Linked DNA regions of Homo sapiens: regions 1, 2, 3, 4, 6 and 7 are each linked to region 5. Evidence: promoter capture Hi-C in 16 types of primary human blood cells and fetal thymus (Javierre and others, 2016). All regions are on one chromosome and are shown on one strand. Each heading gives the region's core, a stretch centred on a gene start or on the middle of the fragment in contact. The rest is flanking DNA. Distances are from core to core; before and after follow the strand shown. Region 1 has its middle 9.3 kb from the start of LINC02862. Region 2 overlaps LOC124907974 (a long non-coding RNA gene). Region 3 has its middle 8.1 kb from the start of LINC02862. Region 4 has its middle 19 kb from the start of ABCA12. Region 5 holds the start of SPAG16 (sperm associated antigen 16). Region 6 has its middle 60 kb from the start of LINC02862. Region 7 holds the start of ABCA12 (ATP binding cassette subfamily A member 12).

What was found. Contacts are between HindIII fragments. The CHiCAGO score rates a contact against its expected background, and 5 or more counts as called.
Region 1: a contact is called between a fragment that was not itself captured here and the fragment with the promoter of SPAG16 in region 5, in 10 of 17 cell types (total CD4 T cells, naive CD8 T cells, activated CD4 T cells and 7 more). The highest score is 15.1, in total CD4 T cells.
Region 2: a contact is called between a fragment that was not itself captured here and the fragment with the promoter of SPAG16 in region 5, in 1 of 17 cell types (naive CD8 T cells). The highest score is 5.2, in naive CD8 T cells.
Region 3: a fragment that was not itself captured here is called in contact with the fragment with the promoter of SPAG16 in region 5 in 10 of 17 cell types (naive CD8 T cells, non-activated CD4 T cells, total CD4 T cells and 7 more); the score reaches 21.8 in naive CD8 T cells.
Region 4: a contact is called between a fragment that was not itself captured here and the fragment with the promoter of SPAG16 in region 5, in 2 of 17 cell types (naive CD8 T cells and total CD8 T cells). The highest score is 6.0, in naive CD8 T cells.
Region 6: a fragment that was not itself captured here is called in contact with the fragment with the promoter of SPAG16 in region 5 in 1 of 17 cell types (naive CD8 T cells); the score reaches 6.7 in naive CD8 T cells.
Region 7: the fragment with the promoter of ABCA12 here is called in contact with the fragment with the promoter of SPAG16 in region 5 in 1 of 17 cell types (M0 macrophages); the score reaches 5.3 in M0 macrophages.

Annotation. Positions count from the first base shown.
Region 1 is chr2:215,264,344-215,267,043 of GRCh38, forward strand. No RefSeq gene overlaps it. Among named protein-coding and RNA genes, the nearest start is that of LINC02862, 9.3 kb to the right of the region's middle. The HindIII fragment of the contact is 945 bases long and covers 947-1,891 here.
Region 2 is chr2:215,177,486-215,180,185 of GRCh38, forward strand. LOC124907974 (a long non-coding RNA gene) reads right to left here. Exons shown (of 2, transcript XR_007088074.1): 2 at 1-1,856. Among named protein-coding and RNA genes, the nearest start is that of ABCA12, 40 kb to the left of the region's middle. The HindIII fragment of the contact is 4,431 bases long and covers 1-2,700 here.
Region 3 is chr2:215,281,787-215,284,486 of GRCh38, forward strand. No RefSeq gene overlaps it. Among named protein-coding and RNA genes, the nearest start is that of LINC02862, 8.1 kb to the left of the region's middle. The HindIII fragment of the contact is 5,494 bases long and covers 1-2,700 here.
Region 4 is chr2:215,155,788-215,158,487 of GRCh38, forward strand. No RefSeq gene overlaps it. Among named protein-coding and RNA genes, the nearest start is that of ABCA12, 19 kb to the left of the region's middle. The HindIII fragment of the contact is 578 bases long and covers 1,131-1,708 here.
Region 5 is chr2:213,283,059-213,285,758 of GRCh38, forward strand. SPAG16 (sperm associated antigen 16) reads left to right here and starts at 1,406. Exons shown (of 16, transcript NM_024532.5): 1 at 1,406-1,561. The coding sequence starts at 1,426. It overlaps SPAG16-DT (SPAG16 divergent transcript), which reads right to left and starts at 1,151. Exons shown (of 3, transcript NR_161186.1): 1 at 975-1,151. RefSeq lists enhancers at 1,439-1,568, 1,609-1,658, 1,729-1,808. The HindIII fragment of the contact is 3,357 bases long and covers 1-2,700 here.
Region 6 is chr2:215,213,766-215,216,465 of GRCh38, forward strand. No RefSeq gene overlaps it. Among named protein-coding and RNA genes, the nearest start is that of LINC02862, 60 kb to the right of the region's middle. The HindIII fragment of the contact is 1,938 bases long and covers 445-2,382 here.
Region 7 is chr2:215,137,307-215,140,006 of GRCh38, forward strand. It overlaps ABCA12 (ATP binding cassette subfamily A member 12), which reads right to left and starts at 1,320. Exons shown (of 53, transcript NM_173076.3): 1 at 834-1,320. The coding sequence starts at 902. The HindIII fragment of the contact is 8,560 bases long and covers 1-2,700 here.

The sequences.
Region 1 (2,700 bases), core at 169-2,668, 2.0 Mb after region 5:
TGGAGTGAGGGCTCAACTCATTTTAACTAGACCCAGTGGTGAGCTGGAGCTGCCTCATATTGGCTCAAAAGAGGAGATGGATAAATGTTCAGAAATTTTGCGAGTCCCATTGGCAGCTTGAAGTCACCCAGGGTTGAGAATATTTACACCACAGAAATTGGCAAATGCTACAAATCTGAGTTTTCCCTCCTCGCCATCCCCCACCAGTGCTGGTTGTTAAACATTTACCAGTACACCACTGACAAGGCTGGAAGGCCTAAGAGCTCCAGAAGATATTTGAGTTACACAATTAATTGACCGGTTCTCTCTTCCAGTGAGGCAAAGAACGCCACACACACTTCAAAATCTAGAAGTCTTTGGAAAATTATTTGAAATGCAAGCTCTATTTGTCCTACCAAACTTCCTAATTTCTAATTATATTTTTTTGAAGCTAATATTAAAATAATCATATTTTTGAGCACATATTGCATAGAAAATAAAACATCATAACTAGGCTATAAAAGAATATGCTCAGTATCCAAGGAATCAACAGTTGCCTTTATTTTAATATATTCTTCTGATAAAAGTTTTGTAATATTTATGCGACCTAATCCTATTCGGATTGAATTACTAACAATAGTCTATCTTAATAATACAAAAAAAATAATTAAATGCTTTATTATAATTTCATCAAATCTTGTACTTTTATAAGAAATTTAAAAATGATCTACGACCTTGTGGAGAAGCAAAAACAACAAAGCATATTAAATCTAGAATTATAGCTCCCAGAGATAATCAATGTTTACAATGATAGAGCAGGGGTCTACAAACTACTATGTACCCCAGGGGCTGAATTCAGCTATGCCTATACTGTGGGCGATTATTTTTGCACTACAACTGAGCTGAGTAGTTGTAATAGGAACCATATAAAGCCTAAAATATTTACTATCTGGCTCTTCACAGAAAAAGCTTGTGGACCTCCAGTTATTCCTCAATTTATAGATATAATTTATAATAAAAATGGGGCGACATCATACATACTGCTTATCAACCTGCTTTCCTCTCCTACTTAGCTATGCAGTCATTAAATGTTGTGTTGCATCATTTTTCAGTTTTGCAGCATTCTTTTTTTTTTTTTTTTTTTTGAGACAGAGTTTCACTCTTGTTGCCCAGGCTGGAGTACAATGGTGCAATCTCAGGTCACTGCAACCTCCGCCTCCCAGGTTCCAGCCATTTTGCTGCCTTAGCCTCCCCAGCAGCTGGGATTACAGGCGCCTGCCACCGTGCCTGGCTAATTTTTTGTATTTATAGTAGAGACAGGGTTTTGCCATGTTGGCCAGGCTGGTCTTGAACTCCTGACCTGAAGTGATCCACCCGCCTCGGCCTCCTGAAGTGCTGGGATTACAGGCATGAGCCACTGTGCCTGGCCCATTTTCTTGATATGACAACATTTATTCAGGTTGTTTCCAATTTTTTTAGGTAACAAATATACTTTAGTCTAACTCTTTTCTCTCTGATTTTTTTAAGGTAAATTTCTAGTTGTAGAATTGTTGGATCAAAGTTGGACATACAAAAGTTCAGATTTTGGTAACTTTTGCAAAGCTGCCCTACAAAGAAGAATTTCCTATATATATATTACAACTGTCTTCCTATGAATTTTAAATGTAAAAGGATTGTATTTTCTGGGTGAAAATTCCCCAAGTTTCTTCCAAAATGTCAAGAATAAATATTTTTAAATATGTCTTTATAAAGTACCCTGTGTGAGAAAAAGTCAGAAAAAATTGTCAGTCTTCACATAGCTATGGTATGCTTCAAATTTTAGTCCCAAATGCACATTATGAAAATATATGCTTTGCGGAAATCTGTAATACTTACTAGGCCAAAAAAGCAGTTTCAGCAAATAATATCTCTAAGCTTCAGTTTTTGCACCTATAAAATGGGATCATACAAGCTCTTCCAATCTGAGAGACTATTGAAATAATCAAATGACACATGCATAAGAAGGAAGTATCAAATTTCGTAAAGTGCAGAAGGTCCGATGGTTTACATCATTTCAACATTTCTCTTTACTGCATTTTATTCTTAGATAGTAAAATTTAATTGATACTAAGATTTTTTTTTAAATAAAGCAAATCTGTGATTGATGCGGGGGAGGAAGTAGGAATGAGATAAATGTCCCCACCGGAATGAGATAAATGTCCCCACCTGTTTTCTTTCAGAGGAAAATTTCCACAGTGCAAGGCCACTTTATCATGCTTCTGGGTGGAAGTTGCCTGAGGGTTGCAGAGTCTAGGCATGGAGCTTCACAGGCAGTTGCTGGCTCTTCTATCCATTCTCCTTTCTTTCTTCCTGAACACTAGACCCTCTTGGCTGTCCTGCTGCCTCACCACTGATCCTTTCCTGTCTCCTTCACTGGTTCCCCCTCTTCACCTTGTCCTCTTAACATTAAGTGCTTGGGAATAAGTATTCTCATGACGTCCAGTTGCATACCTAGAACACTGATGACTCCTGCACCTCATTCAGCCCAGTCTTCTCTCCCGAGCCCCAAACTCTCAAATCTCACTGCCTAATCAATTTCTTCACTTGCATGTCTAATAGCATCTTAAAGTTCATATATAAATACATACTCGCCAGGCGTGGTGGCTCACACCTGTAATCCCAGCACTTTGGGAGGCCAACGTGGACAGATCACCTGAGGTCGGGAGTTCAAGACCAGCCTGG
Region 2 (2,700 bases), core at 104-2,603, 1.9 Mb after region 5:
GCTCTTTCTTGGTTCTGTACAAATTTTAGGATTTTTTTTCTGTTTCTATAAAAAATGACATTGATATTTTGATAGCAATTGCATTGAATCTATAGATGGCTTTGGGTAGTATGGGCATTTCAACACTGTTAATTTTTCTGATCCATGCGCATGAGATGTCTTTCCATTTGTTTGTGTCCTCTTCAGTTTATTTTATCAGTGTTTTGTAGTTTTCCTTGTAGTCATTCATCCACTTGGGTAAATTTATTCCTAGGTATTTTTTGTAGCTATTGTAAATGGTATTGCCTTCTTGATTTTTTTTCAGCTAGTTCATTATTGGTGTATAGAAATATTACTAATTTTAATTATTGATTTTGTATCCTGAGACTTTACTGAATTTCTTAGTTTTAAGAGTTTTTTGGTGGGGTTTTTGGTTTGTGAAGAGTTTTTATCATGAAGACAAGTTGAATTTTATCAAATGCTTTTTTTTGCATCTTTTGAGATGATCATATGGTTTTTGTCCTTCATTATTGTATTAGTCTTTTCTCACACTGCTATAAAGAACTACCTGAGACTGGGTAACTCATAAAGAAAAGAGGTTTAATTGAATCACAGTTTCACAGGCTGTGCAGGAGGCATGGCTAGGGAGGCCTGAGGAAACTTATAATCATGGTGGAAGTCGAAGGGGAAGCAAGCATAATCTTCACACGGCAGAGCAGGAGAGACAGCATCTGGTATCATAGAATGAGTTAGGGGTAATTCCCTCCTCTTCAACTTTTTGGAATAGTTTCAGGAAAATTAGCATTAATTCTTTATACATTTGGTACAATTTGGCAGTGAAGCATCTGGTCTTCGGCTTTTCTTTCCTCAGAGACTTTTTATTACTGGTTTAATCTTGTTACTCATTGGTCTGTTCAGGTTTTCTATTTTTTTTCTGATTCAACCTTAGAAGATGGTATGTGTTCAGGAATTTATCCATTTCCTCTAGGTTTTCCGGTTTGTTAGTGCATAGTTGTTCATAATAGTCTCTAATGAGACTATTCATTTCATTAATCCTTTGTATTTTTTTTTTTTTTTTTTTTGAGATGGAGTCTTGCTCTGTCGCCCAGGCTGGAGTGCAGTGGCTCAATCTCGGCTCACTTCAAGCTCCGCCTCCGAGGTTCACGCCATTCTCCTGCCTCAGCCTCCCGAGTAGATGGGACTACCAGGTGCCCACCAACACGCCCGGCTAATTTTTTGTATTTTTAGTAGAGACGGGGTTTCACCGTGTTAGCCAGGATGGTCTCGATCTTCTGACCTCGTGATCCGCCCGCATCGGCCTCCCAAAGTGCTGGGATTACAGGCGTGAGCCACAGTGACCGGCCTGTATTGTTTTTTTAAGTCTCTATTTTATTTAGTTCTGCTCTGATCTTTATCGTTTCTTTCCTTCCACTAATCTTGGATGTGGTTTGTTCTTGCTTTTCAAGTTCCTTGAGGTGCATCATTAGACTGTTTATTTGAAATCTTCCATTTTTCTGATGTAGGTATTACTGCTACAAATGTCCATCTTAGCACTGCTTTTGCTATATCCCATAGTTTTGGGTATGCTGTGTTTCAATTTTCTTTTGTTTCAATACATTTTTAAAATTTTCTCTCTTAATTTCTTCATTGACCCAGTGGTTATTCAGGAGCACGTTGTTTAACTTCCATGTATTTGTATCATTTCCAAAGTTACTCTTATTGATTGCTAGTTTTAGTCCACTTTTATTCCAGTTTTATTAATAGTGGAAAACTTCCCGAGTCTAGCAGGATGTTTACACATCTGGATACAAGAAGCTCAGAGATTCTCAAATATTTATAATGCAAAAAGACATTCTCCACAGCACATTATAGTCAAGCTGTAAAAAGTCAAAAATAAAGAGAATTGTAAAAACAGTAAGAGAAAAGTATCTAGTCACCTGTAAGGGAATCTAATCAGATTAACAGTAAAGATACTTGCTCTGAGTACATACTTGATGTGATTTTGATTTTTAAAAAATTTGCTGAGACTTCTTTTGTGAACTAATGTGATTTATCCTGGAGAATGTTTCATGTGCTAATTAGACGAATGTGTATTTTGTAGCCATTGGAAACAGTAAAGGTTAAGTTCATTGGTCTAAAGTCCAGTTTAAGTTCAGTGTTTCTTTTTTGTTTTCTGTCCACATGACCTGTCTATTGCTGCGAATGGGGTGTTGAAGTCCCCCACTATTATTGTACATTGTATTGGAGTCTATTTTTTCCTTTACATCTAGTAATATAATTTTTTTTTTGAGGCCGAGTCTCATTCTGTTGCCCAGGCTGGAGTGCAGTGGTGTGATCTCGGCTCACCACAACCTTTGCCTTCTGGGTTCAAGCAATTCTCCTGCCTCAGCCTCCTGAGTAGCTGGGACTACAGGCGTGTGCCACCGTGCCCGGCTAATTTTTATATTTTTAGTAGAGACAGGGTTTCACTATGTTGGCCATGCTGGTCTTGAACTCCCGACCTTGTGAAGCATCCATCTCAGCCTCCCAAAGTGCTAAGATTACAGGCGTGAGCCACCACACCTGGCCTACATCTAGTAATATAATATTTATGTATCAGAGTTCTCCGGTGTTGAGTGCATATAAATTTATAATTGTTATATCCTTTTGCCGAATTGATCTCTTTATCATTGTATAATGACCTTCTTTGTCTTTTTAAATGTTTTTGAATTAAAGCCTGTT
Region 3 (2,700 bases), core at 118-2,617, 2.0 Mb after region 5:
CATCTTGAAGCAAGTCCTCCAGCCCCTCTCAAATGCCCCAGCTGGCATCTTGACTGTTAACCTCATGAGAGATCCTGAGCCAGAATGACCTAATGTGCCCCCGGATTCTTCACCTTCAGGAAATTTATGCTATCATAAATGTTTATTATTGTTTGAAGCCAGTAAGTTTTGGAGTAATTTGCTCTGTGTGCAGTGATAAATAGATAACTAAAACAACTGATGCTGGTACAGTTACAGCATAGTTCATCTCTCCCAAGTAAAACTTTACTTATTTCATGACGTATATGAAGAATTTAGAAAAATAAATTTAAAAAATCAACTTTGGGGTCAGGTAAGGATATTTAAAATCTAGCACTTCACAAGCACATCCCAAAAGAGTATATTCAAGTAGTATGTAAGTATATAAAAGGATACTTAACCTCATTAGCCATAGGGTATTCAAATTAAAACAACAATGAGACTGGGCATGGTGGCTCACGCCTGTAATCCCAGCACTTTGGGAGGCCGAGGCAGGTGGATCACCTGAGGTCAGGAGTTCAAGACCAGCCAATGTGGTGAAACCCTGTCTCTACTAAAATACAAAAATTAGCTGGGCATGATGGTTGGTGCCTATAACCCCAGCTACTCGGGAGGCTGAGATGGGGGAATCACTTGAACCCCGGAGATGGTGGTTGCAGTGAGCCAAGATTGTGCCACTGCACTCCAGCCTGGGCAGCTGAGCGAGACTCTTGTCTCAAAAAAAAAAAAAGAAAAGAAAAAAAAAAGAAAACAACAACGAGAAAAACTGTTCACCCACCAGAGGGCTAGAATAAAAAATAATGATAACATTTAGTGCTGGTAAGGATATGAGGCAAATGAAACTCTCATATACTGCTGAAGATTGTGTACAATCACTCTGGGGAATTATTTGGCAGTACAGGAGGTACTAAAGCTAAACTGCATACACCTTGTCACATAACCATTCCACTTCTAGTAGTAAACCCAACAGAAATGTATACACATGTGCACCAAAAAAGTACAAAAATATTGATAGCCAAAAACAGAGAATGATCTGTATGTCCAATAGCAGTAGAAAGGATAAATTGGGATGTGTTCACACAAGAAATACTGTATAGCAATGAGAAATAAACAAATTACAGATATTTCCAGCAATAATAATAGATTTCACATATGTAATATTGAGTGGAAAAAAGCTGTTTTTTAAAACAAAAAGTGGGGGCCGGGTGCGGTGGCTCATGCCTGTAATCCCAGCACTTTGGGAGGCTGAGGCGGGCAGATCACCTGAGGTTGGAAGTTCGAGACCAGCCTGACCAACATGGAGAAACCCCATCTCTACTAAAAATACAAAATTAGCCGGGTGTGGTGGCGCATGCTTGTAATCCCAGCTACTCAGGAGGCTGAGGCAGGAGAATGGCTTGAACCCAGGAGACAAGCTGAGATGGTGTCATTGCACTGCAGCCTGGACAACAAGAGTGAAACGCCATCTAAAAAAAAAGGAGGGGGGGTACATAGTATGTAATTCCATTCATATAAAGTTCAAAAGCAGGCAACACTAATTTATGGTGATGGAAATCAGGATAATGGTCACCTTTGAAGAGGAGGAGGAAGCAACTAAGATATGACATAGGGTGGGGAGCTTTTGGATGTTGATAATAATCTATTTCCTCATTTGTCTGCTGGTTATGCAAGTGTGTTCACTTGCTGGATATTCCTTCAGATGTATACTTATGATTTGTGCCCTTGTCTGTATGTATGTTATTCTCAGACAAAAAGTTTACCAAAAAAAAAAAAAAAAAAACACTCAACATGGTAAGGAATAAACCCCAATTTTCTCATTTTCATGGTTGAACTCTCATTAGGTGGGAGAGTGCTCTTGTTGTTAGAAGCTACATACTGAATTGTCAAAAGGTAATAGGGCACGTTTGTAATTCTCAAATGGCTTAGGGGTAAAAATATAAAATATGTGTTATATATGAATATATAATATACATGATACATCTGTGGAATGAATATATATGTGTGTGTGTGTGTGTGTGTGTGTGTGTGTGTATAGAGAGAGAGAGAGAGAGTGCCAATGATGAAGCAAATATGTTTTTTTTTCTTTTAAATTGCCAGGTGCGGTGGCATGCACCTGTAATCTCAGCTACTTGGGAGGCTAAGGCAGGAGGATCACTTGAGTCCAGGAGTTTGAGACCAGCCTAGGCAACACAGTGAGATGCTGTCACACACACACAAAAAAAACCCAAACAGGTCAGGTGCAGTGGCTCACACCTGTAATGCCTGTAATCCCAGCAATTTGGGAAGCCGAGGTAGGTGGATCACCTGAGGTCAGGAGTTCGAGACCAGCCTGGCCAATGTAAGGAAATGCTGTCTCTACTAAAAATACAAAAATTAGTCAGGTGTGGTGGTGCGTGCCTGTAGTCCAGGTAACTGGGAGGCTGAGGAACGAGAATCGCTTGAATCCAGGAGGCAGAGGTTGCAGTGAGCCAAGATCATGCCAATTTGATCGTTCCAAAACAATTGAGGAGTTTGAGTGAAGGGTATGTGAGAGTTTATTGTGTTTTTCTTGTATTTTTTCTGAAACTTTGAAACTCTTTCAAAATAATTAAAACGTATTTTAAAAACACCTGTTAGCTGGGTGTGGTGGCACACAACTGTAGTCTTAGCTACTCAGGAGGCTGAGGCAGGAGGATTTCTTGA
Region 4 (2,700 bases), core at 170-2,669, 1.9 Mb after region 5:
CAGATTAAGATTATGCCCCTGATAGGCCGGGTGCGGTGGCTCACGCCTGTCACCCCAGCACTTTGGGAGGCCGAGGTGGGCGGATCACCTGGGGTCAGGAGTTCAAGACCAGCCCAGCCAACATGGCAAAACCCCATCTCTACTAAATATACAAAAAAATTAGCCGGGTGTGATGGCGGGCACCTGTAATCCCAGCTACTCTGGAGGCTAGAATCACTTGAACCCAGGAGGCGGAAGTTGCAGTGAGCTGAGATCATACCACTGCACTCCAGCCTGGGCGACAGAGTGAGACTCTGTCTCCAAAGAAAAAAAAAAAAAAGTTTATGCCCCTGATGATAAACATTATGGAGCTTACATTTTACCAGGCTTTTATTTCATCGTGAGGATACATGATCAAAGAACACGAAATTTTTCTCTAGGACACACTGTTAACATCACCATTATATCATTTGCCAAATGTTAGTTATGAGCCTTGGTTGAAGTAATGCATGCCAAGTTTCTTCACTGTAGAATGACTATTTTCAGTAGGACACTTTGAGACTATGCAAAAATCCTGCTCCTCCTTAAACTTTTTCCCACAATTTTACCCACTAAGTTAATCTTCCAGACTTTTATTTACTTGATTACTGGATCCAAAGAGTTCCAAATACTTTGACTAAATAATGGTAAAATTAGAAATCTTTGCCAAAAAGAATATACTGGCCTAATAGAATATAAAGGTTTAAGTAGAAATATATATGTATAATTTCAATCAAGCCCGAGACTTCTCCCCATTAGTAGGATGTTTTAGTTAAAAACACATGAAAGGCTTTTGCCTGAATTTACCCAGATAGTTACAGTTGAATGACTAAGATGGAAGGTTAAATGCTTTGTCAGCATTTCAAAGATGAATTTCAATATCTATTATAACATCTTTATGATATGAAATATTTTCTTTTCTGCTAATGCCCTATTGCTGTGAATAATCAAACCATTCAAACTACTTTCTCTAATGCAATTAAAAAAAAAACTAATAAAAATTCTGAGTTTTGATTCTAGGCCAGAAGTCTGCCTGTAGTCGGGGGAAAAAAAAGGTGGGAAAGTCATTCATTGTCATTCTCCAGGAATTTTAGAAGATAGTACACTTTTAAAGCTTCTTGGAAACTCTAGATAATAGGCAGTCAATATTACAAATACAGGTTAAACAAGAGACGTTAATTAAAATCGTCATTTAGGGAAGAACATTACTGTTACCATTAATTTAATTTCTGAAACAATTTATAGATTTTACCTTTTATCACCTTAAAAAGAATGGAGAAAGATTTTATTAGAAGGCCACAGTTCATATACATCATTTTCTATGGGGCTAACATGCATCAACTCTCAAAACTCCCTCACGTTCATTGCAGTAAACACACAGCCTTTGGCAAATCTATATGGGGTAGAGTTGAGAACTTAGTGGCATCCTTATAAGTTCATAAAACTACTGTGTATAAACCTAAAGGACAAATAAGTAACATGAAGGGATTGATGAAATTAAGTGAAAAAGTGAACAAAACGTGTATGTAAAGTGTAAAAATTGAGGTCAAGGGTGCAGTTTCATGCTTAGAATAACCTTAGGGAGATGTGTGCCAAGTCTACAATATTATGCTTAATTGTGGTCTAACTTTAAGTGCTCTGAGACATTTCTGGTGAATGCCAAGTCATCTAGACAACTCAAGGAATTGAAAGCTTGAGAAGAAAGTCAACAGTTAGCACTGCTATTCAATTTTTTCATGACCCAGGACAAGTCACTAGGTCTCTCTGTACCTAGGTTCTTAAACTCCGCATCTGTAAAATTGAAATTATGCTCCCAAATTGCTTCTCAATATTGTTGTGAAAGTTATCCAATAAAAGGTATGGCATTTTAAAGCACTGAATGGGTTCCCCTGTAATAGTCAAATGTCAGTATCTGTTCCCAAGAAATATAGTAGATTTTCTCTTCTGAGAGATTTTTTAAGTCATTTGTCCTGAAAGTTTTCAGCAGCCACTAATCTAGGAGAATATCAGATTGAATTTTTTGACATCCATTAGTTTTATTCTCTTATAAATTAAGTGCTGCTTTCATGTAACAGTTCTCAATAAGGCTTGACCAGTGATACATGATCTACACACAACTACGCATCCACTCTTGCCTTTCCAAGTTATTCTCCAAATTGCAGCCAAAATGATCTTTTCAAAGCACAGGTCTAAAGATGTCACTCCCTTTCTTAAAGCCCTTGAATGGCTTCCCTTTGTGTTTAGGACAACGACGGAACTGCTTAATGGTCCACAAGACTGTCTATGGTCTAATACTTAGAGTCCACCATCCTCCAAAACTCTCCCTACCTGTTTTCTTTCACTGTCTCTTCATCCCACTCTTTCCCTTCCCAGGGTCACGGTCTTGCACACACTTCCCTCCTGCCCTCTCTGAGTTTCATACCCACTCACTCTCTCTGGCAGTCATTTTCTTACAAATGTCTAACCTAACATCCACAGCACTGTGCTTTTCTCTTTGGTAGCCCTTATAGAGTTGGCATTTACATTTTTTGTGTGTGATTATTTCATTGCTCTTTGTCTCCCTCATTAGATTGTAAATATTAAAATCCTTCACGTATTGGCATCACAGTGTATCTCTAGGGCCTACACAGTGCTCGACTCAGTAAATTTTTGTTGAATAAACAGTATTTCCTTAAATCAATA
Region 5 (2,700 bases), core at 156-2,655:
GCTTCCAGTTTTCACCAAGAAATGTAGAATGAAAAATAATACCATTTGCCCTAGCAATCCCATTACTGGGTATATACCCAAAGAAACAGAAATTGTTCTACCATAAAAACACATGTACATGCGTGTTCATTGATATTCATGATAAAGACATGGATTCAACCTAAATGCCCATCAACGGACTGGATAAAGAAAATGTGGTACACATATACCATGGAATACTATGCAGCCACAGAAGAATGAGATCATGTCCTCTCAGGGACATGAATGCAGCTGGAGGCCATTATCCTTAGCAAACTAATGCAGGAACAGAAAACCAAATACTGCATGTTCTTAGTTGTAAGTGGGAGCTAAATAATGAGAACAAATGGACACAAAGAAGGAACAACAGACACTGGGGCCTACTTGAGGAGGAGAGTGGGAGGAGGGAGAAGATCAGAAAAAATAACTATTGGGTACTACACTTAGTACCTGGGTGACGAAATAAGTTATATACCAAACCCCTGCGACATGAGCTTACCTGCACTTGTACCCCTGAACCTAAAATAAAAGTTAAGGGAAAAAAAAATATTTGCAAAGAAAAGGGCCTTGAATTTGCTTCTGATACATACGCGATATAACCTGAGGAAGATCCTCTCAGCAATAAGACTATACATGATGGGGCAAGTGTCAACTGCATACATTTGTCAGGACCAAATTTGTAGCTCATAATTTTTATGCAACTGTTTTTACCTTGGCGAGAATCAATGCTACAAATACTATTCCAAGTCTTAGTATATGGAACCAAACTCAAAACAGATGTCCAGCTAAATGCATTAAAGATCACAAGAAAGGAATTGACAAAGCTGAACACCATAGTTCTTCATTGCTAAGCATCTGAGGAGCGTCTGGTAGCTCCCCTGGGTCAGTCTTTCTATTATGATTTCTAGAACTTTATTTTTTCATTTTTTAAAAAATTCCAGGTGTTGAGAACTCACCTTTTCTAGTAGTTTTCCCTGGGAACACTTGGGGATCTACAAACATCTGAAATTGGAGGATGCTAATGGGCAAGAATCAAGAGAAAGGTAATTCAGAGACGACAACGAAGTGGGAAAGAAATTACAGGGTCAAAGCGAAAGAAAACCAAGCTGCTTGGGTAGGAAGGTGCAATGCAAGCCAATTGTTTACTGTATCTTGTCCGCTCCCAGAGCTGCGCCCGAGCTCTCGCGTTAACTAGGCAACATCGTTGCCACGGTAACTGGGAGGCGCGGGAGGGCGACAGCTCCCTGGACTCCCGGTAACCCTTACGTGCCCGGGGCTGGTCCGTGGGGCGGGGTGAGAGATGCCGGAATCTCGCGAGAGCTCCCGGGGGCCGTTGGGTAGCGTCTTCGCTGTTGCCCTTAGGGACGGCTGTGGGCCTGCTGGGGGTGGGGGCCCGAAGCGCCAGAGATGGCTGCTCAGCGAGGGATGCCCAGCTCCGCCGTGAGGGTCCTGGAAGAGGCGTTGGGCATGGGTTTGACGGCAGCCGGGGACGCGAGGGACACGGCGGACGCGGTGGCGGCTGAGGGCGCCTACTACCTGGAACGTATCCTTCCCGTGGAGGCGCGGCCCGCTGCGCTGGCGGGTAATGGGTGTTGGGACGAAGGCGAGGGCCTCCCACTGGCGGCGCCTTTTGAGCCTTGGGGCCACTCCGGAGGAGCCTCTGTTGGACTTCAAGGTGCTGTTTTTGCCACCACAGTCTTCCTGAGAGCCACTCACTGAATTTCTCGCCCTTAGTAGCCCAGGGTGTCCTGTACCTGTTAGAAGAGTTGGGAGACCTTCCAAGGCCTCATACTTAGTAACCACTCAGTACATTTTGGATGGAGGGTTGCTTTTTATGTTAAGACAGCACAACAAATTGCTTCAACCCTCCTTTCAAATAATGGGTTTCCTAAATAAGCCCTCAATCTTTCAGAAAGCCGTCCCAATAAATTCAACGGAGGAACGTTAGGAGACTAGGGAAAGACCTCTGCCATTGGACTTTAAGGAGCTGAAGCTCAGAATACCCAACCCACGATCCTGTTCGATGGTCCAGTTAATGCTTAAATGCTTAGTTTTGATAGCATTATCTTCCTGAGTAGTTCCAAGTTTGACTACTTAATAATAAATACTAATAGTATAGTTGCTTTTTTTTCTTGAGCAAATAAATAATGATCTGGTGAGCTACACAGCTCAGAGATATTAGGAATAAAGCAGATGGTGATTAGCGATTTTTATCGGAAGTACCAGAAAAATTGAATAACAATGTGTGGATAATTAGGTCCACTATTTCTTGTGTAAGGCTTTAGAACTTCTTTCCTCTAGTTATATAGATTAATTCCTACTAGGGAGACGGGGAGGGTTCATGAGAAAAAGACATGTAACTCCTTTATTCAGGGAGGTAAGAAAGAGATGATTATCTGTTCAGTTCTTAAAGATACCAAGGAAACTCCAAAATCTGCCAAATCTTATTTGTTTGTCCAACTGTAATCCTCTCCAGGTTTAATTCAAGATTTCAGAAATCCAGCAATGATTCATTTCGTGAGCTTTGACAAGCCGATTAACCTGTCCTGACTCAGGCTCAGTACACATCCACACTACAGAGAGCTTTGAAGAATTTAGCTGAAAGATTAAAGAAAATATGTAGTATTTTATTGGGTGCAAAAACGACTTTTACAGGAATAGAAATTTGAATCGCTTGAAATG
Region 6 (2,700 bases), core at 164-2,663, 1.9 Mb after region 5:
ATATCTGAGCTTCACATGACCAACCTTCATTCATTCTACATATATTTATGGAGCACTCAATTTATTCCAGGCTCTATTCTAGGCTTTAGGAAGAGGCAGTGAATAATGTAAAGTTATTTGTCCTTGTGGAGCTTACATTTTAATAGAGGGAGACAGACAATAATCAAACTGATTTATGAAGACGTGGAGGAGGAGAGGAGGAGAGGAGGGGGATGAAAGAGAAGGAGAAGAGGAGGAGGATGAGAGAAGGAGGAGAAGAGGAGGAAGTGTAGAAGGAAGAGGAGGAGAAGAATACTTTACAGTGTGGTTGAAACATATGGATTCCATAGATTATATTGATTCCATACAATTCTTAGAATTCCATGAAAAATGAAGAGGGGGAGAAGGAGGAGGCAGATAGGAAGAAAGGGGAGGAAAAGGAAAGAAAAGAAACATCAAAATAAAAGCTTATACTTACAGAGAGTGATAGAGAAGGAGGTGTTCCTCTCATTCCCAACTGTGGTTTATCTTTTAAATCCCTCTCACAATCATCCCATAATCCCTTTTTAATCTTACTCTCAACATCTGGAATCTCAATCCCCTTCACTCTTAAAACTCCACCCCTTTCCCTGTAGGGAAACAGCTGCATCTTGTATTTGTCATGGAAACCTCAATCTTCAATCAAATAGAGTAACGCAGCCCTTCCTTTGCTTAGGAGTTTCAGGCTCTCAACTGGGATAGGTGGGTTCTGGTCTCTTGAGGTGAGGAAGAAGCTGAAGCAGCAAAGGCTACTGCTGTCAGCCTCCCAGGTTACCTAAAGGCAAACAAATCTCACTAGAGCAAACATTAATTTTCTTTTCCAAACAACACAATTTAATCTCCTATGGGGAAGTCATACTTCTCTTTGCAACATGGCTTTGATTGCATTGCTTGTGAAATAGCAACCTGGGACTCATTGTGATAACAAGCATGTGACTACTTCCTGTGGCTGCTTGAATGTAAGGGCCACAACCTTAGTGGATAATGGCTCTCTCTGGTTGAAAAAATCCTCACATCTTTCCCGATAGCAGTAGGGAATAAGATCTCAATTCATCTCCCCACAACCTCAAGTGAGAAATTTGGACATAATTCCATATACAGAAGACATAAAGACTTGTTTTTAAAACTCAGAGGAGAGGAATTATCATAGCTTAGCTTTAGGATGAATATTGGCATAATGATAGGATGGACCAAAATAATAATAATAATAAAGGAGGTAGGAGAACTAGTAAGAAAATGACGTCAATTTTCCAGATGAGAAGCAATGAGCACTGAGATCAAGTCATAGGAATAGACAGGAAAAGTGAGAGATAGACTCAAGGCACAATGCACAGGAGAAGCCACAGAGCTGTGCAACTAATTAAATACTAAGAGCAGTTGAGAGATGTCAACATTTCCAGCTTCGTGACCATGTGAATTGTTGTCCTGGTAGAAGAAAGAAGAGAAAAGAAAAGGGAAGAGAAGAAAAAAGAAAAGGAGAGAGAGAGAGAGGGAGGGAGGGAGCGAGAGAGGGAGAGGGAAAATCAGGGTGGATGTGGGGTGGGAGAGGAAAGGGTCTATTGTGAACATGTGAAGTTTTAGATGTTCACAGACATCCTATACTGTGTCAAGGTTTCTCAATCCTTGAGACAATGAAGATTTCTCAGAAGCAGTTTGGGAAGTTACAGATGTGGACCTTGCAGTTTGATAGATGTTGGTTTGAATCCTGCCATCACTCCTTGCTAAGGGTGTGACCCTTGGCAAGGCACTGCCTGCTCAGTGTCTTCATCTGTAAGATGAAATTAATAGCGCCTATCTCATAGAAGGATTAAATGAGAAAACTCAAGTAGGCCACTTTGAACATTTCCTGGCATAGAGAACAATATGTAAAAGTTAAAAATTGTTCGTCTTTGATCATTGCTTTATTCAACCCTTCTTAAGATAAAGACCTGTTAAAAATATTCTAAATTATTTTTACATAACACATGATCACTTCCTCTTTGTTTGCCTTCACACTTCATTCAAGGTTGGTGGTCAATGACAGTTTGCAAACTGTCCCAGGCAGTCTTTCCTATGGTAATGAGACCCCCAAGAGAGTGTTTAGCAAAAGTGTTTGCCTAGAGAGATCAAGAGGAGTTTGTGTAGTTTGCACTTTGTAATTATAATGAGAATTACGTCAATTCATCATACTTTTAAACCCAAAGTCTTGCCCAAAATGACTGCAGTTGAACATGTGTTTATCATAGTGCTACTCTAAAAAGAAGGTACCTTATGTAAGCAAGAAGGAGTCCCCTCGCTCGTAGGTGTAAGGGGGCAAATCAATGTGCTGTGGAGGAGGGGTGTGTGAGCAAACAAGGTGTATCAGAATCGCTAGAACATATCCAAAGCTTGTAAATGAATGTAATACCCGGATGCTTACTCATATTAGAATCAAAATGTCCATCTCAGAACATGCCAGTAGCTTAAGTTTGAATGCCCATTAGTTCCTTAAAATTAAATGCAGACCAGACAATTATCATATAATTTATAAATACTATATTTTAAGAACATTTATTTATCCAACATGTATTGAGTGCAGACCCTAATGAAGAAAGGTAGCAGACCTAGAAGAATCTGACAGGTCTTCTCCTTGAAATTTGGCTCTAATATCTTCTAGTTAGACACCTATGCCTCCCTGAGTCTAATTCTCTCCTTTAAAATGGA
Region 7 (2,700 bases), core at 70-2,569, 1.9 Mb after region 5:
TACATTACTCATTCAAGGCTGGGAATTACCACTTTAAAATAAAGTATATTGAATACCTTTTTGGATTTCCCCGATTTTCAAACATTCTTCTGAATATATAACAACTCCCAGAAACCAATTCCTTTCTCAATCATCCTGGGAGCCATCTGATGAGGATCTAATAGCTAACTTTGTAATTAGAACGCAAACATTAATGTAAGAGTACAAAAAAGACGTTGCAATGAGCAAGAGAAGATAGATTGTAGTAGTAAAGCTAAGTGATTCAATAATATTCTTAAAACATAGCACATATACATACTCTTGTTTGGTATTCCCAGTAAATGATTTTTAGATACTAAAATTTCTCAGTAGCTTTTCTATACTAATAGCCTTCAAACTATTTCTGTTCTGTATTTTACCTTTCAACCAAACTTTCTATGGCTTTCAGTTTTCCAGTATATTTCTTCCCATTTATTGTACATTTCAAATAATACTTTTCTTTCCTCTATCCCATTTTTAACTACATTAAGAAAAATTCTGAAAGCCTTTTGGCTTGAAACCAGAATTCAACGTTCCAGTTCAGCCAGTAATGAGTCATGTTCTTTTTTTTTTGCCCAGGGCATGTCCTGGTTTACTCTTTAATTTACTGAAATGAAAAGGCTGCTTTTGGGGGCATGTTAAGACTCGCTCCATTAGCTATAAGACAGATAGGGGGATGAATTCTAAATATCTTACTTCCTGCTTTGGAAAATGCCTTTAAACTCTTCTGTTTTCACTTCTCATTAAGATCACATTTTAGGATTACCTGGCGTATTGCCCCATGACCCATACTCCCACACTTTTTTTTAACTCACCGGCTGCCTTTTTACACCTAGCCAATTTTTCCAGACCAGGATCTGAAGCTGATGAAACAGGGAAGCCATCCTTCAAATGCCCCAAATGAGAGATTTCCTCTTCTTTTCTCCACTCCACAAATGAAGAACTGATGCCCCGTCCAACTTGCTGTATGTCAGTGTATCAGTACCCCTTTCACGGCATAGCTTCCTTGAGGGCTGGGGTAAGAAACCCACAGTTCTTCTGTTTCTGCTGGATTTTTCCCTGTGGTTAATCCTTAACCAAGAGGCACTTCTCAATCAACTCTTCTTCCAAAAGAAGGACCCAGATCAGTATCTTTGGGTGGCTTATGCTTATTTTAAAATAATATCCAGTTGCTGCTTGTTGCACGAAGTCCAGACTCAAGAGAGAATGAGCATCATTCAGATAATGCCTCACTGAAAAAAAAAAAAAAGCAGCAGCTGAACCCACACCTCCTACTCTCCATGAAATTAATTGCCTATCCACACCTTAGAGAACATGTCACCTGCACTGGATGCGTCACAGGGACTAGGGGGTGGGACCTTTGCAAGGCCAGTAGGACTTGTCCTACATTCTCTTGTCTTCTTTCCTGCACACAGTGTCTGCTCTAGCAGAGGCAGGGCACAGAGAGCATTTCACAGACACTGGGCCCAGTGACTCTTTAATATTAAAGTGTCATTAAAATGATTTAAGTCAATAAGGCCAGAGCTTAGCTGCAAAGCTCTGAGCCTCAGCCCATCATTAGATATACTAGGGAAAGTGTCCACCTTTAACCTAAAGTTGAATGTTTCGATTTTGGGGGAAGAAACTATGTTGGCCAGGTCCCACCTTTCATCACAATGTACTAGGTTAAGCACAGGGCAGAAAAGGAAAGGTAGGCTGTAGGGGACATAAATTACAAACTGGAGTCCCTCAATTCGTGAGTGGAGATTCACGTGTCTATTACAGACAAGCCACATTGTTTCAGGCTCTTATAGTGAAAGGGGACACAGGCTGATCCAAGACATTTCTATTTCCTCTTTCCATGATACATTCCTCCCTCTCTAAGATCCTGCCTTTCAAAGTTATCCCCAAGTTGACATCTTCAATGAAGCCTTTTTGGATATATCCCATAGGATAGATTCTCTTGCCTTTGAATCATTCTTTGTTGCCCTCTCTCAAGGAACTTAAAGTTTTTGCATTATTTTTATTTGTGTATGTCTTATTTTTCCTACAAGATTATAAATTATTTGAGGACATGGACTATTTTATATCACAGTACTTTACATATCATTAGTGTTCAATACTTGCTGCTGAATGTAATTGAATAAACTACTGGAGCCAAGGCTAGTAGGGTGAAGCTCCCCTTTGATCCTCACACCTACCCTGACTAATCCAGACTTTACTTGCAAAATCCGTTAAAGCATTAAGAGTTCTCCCTTCGCCAGGTGCGGTGGCTCATGCCTGTAATCCCAGCAATTTGGGAGGCCGAGACGGGCTGATCACTTGAGGTCAGGAGTTCAAGACCAGCCTCGCAAACATGGTGAAACCCCGTCTCTACTAAAAACACAAAAATTAGCCAGGCATGGTGGTGGGCACCTGTAATCCCAGCTATTTGGGAGGCTGAGGAGGGAGAATCGCTTGAAACCGGGAGGCAGAGGTTGCAGTGAGCTGAGATGGCGCCACTGCACTCCAGCCTGGGCAAAAGAGTGAGATTCCATCCCCCCTCCAAAAAAAGGAATCTAGCACAGGTCCTGCCTCATAGTAAGTAGTCAATTAATTCTATTAATTGGGTAGCAATGTTTGCTAAGGACTTATTGAATCATCCTAGGAGTCCTATTATATAGAAACTGTCATTATTCCCATTTTCAGTGAAAGAAAGTGATA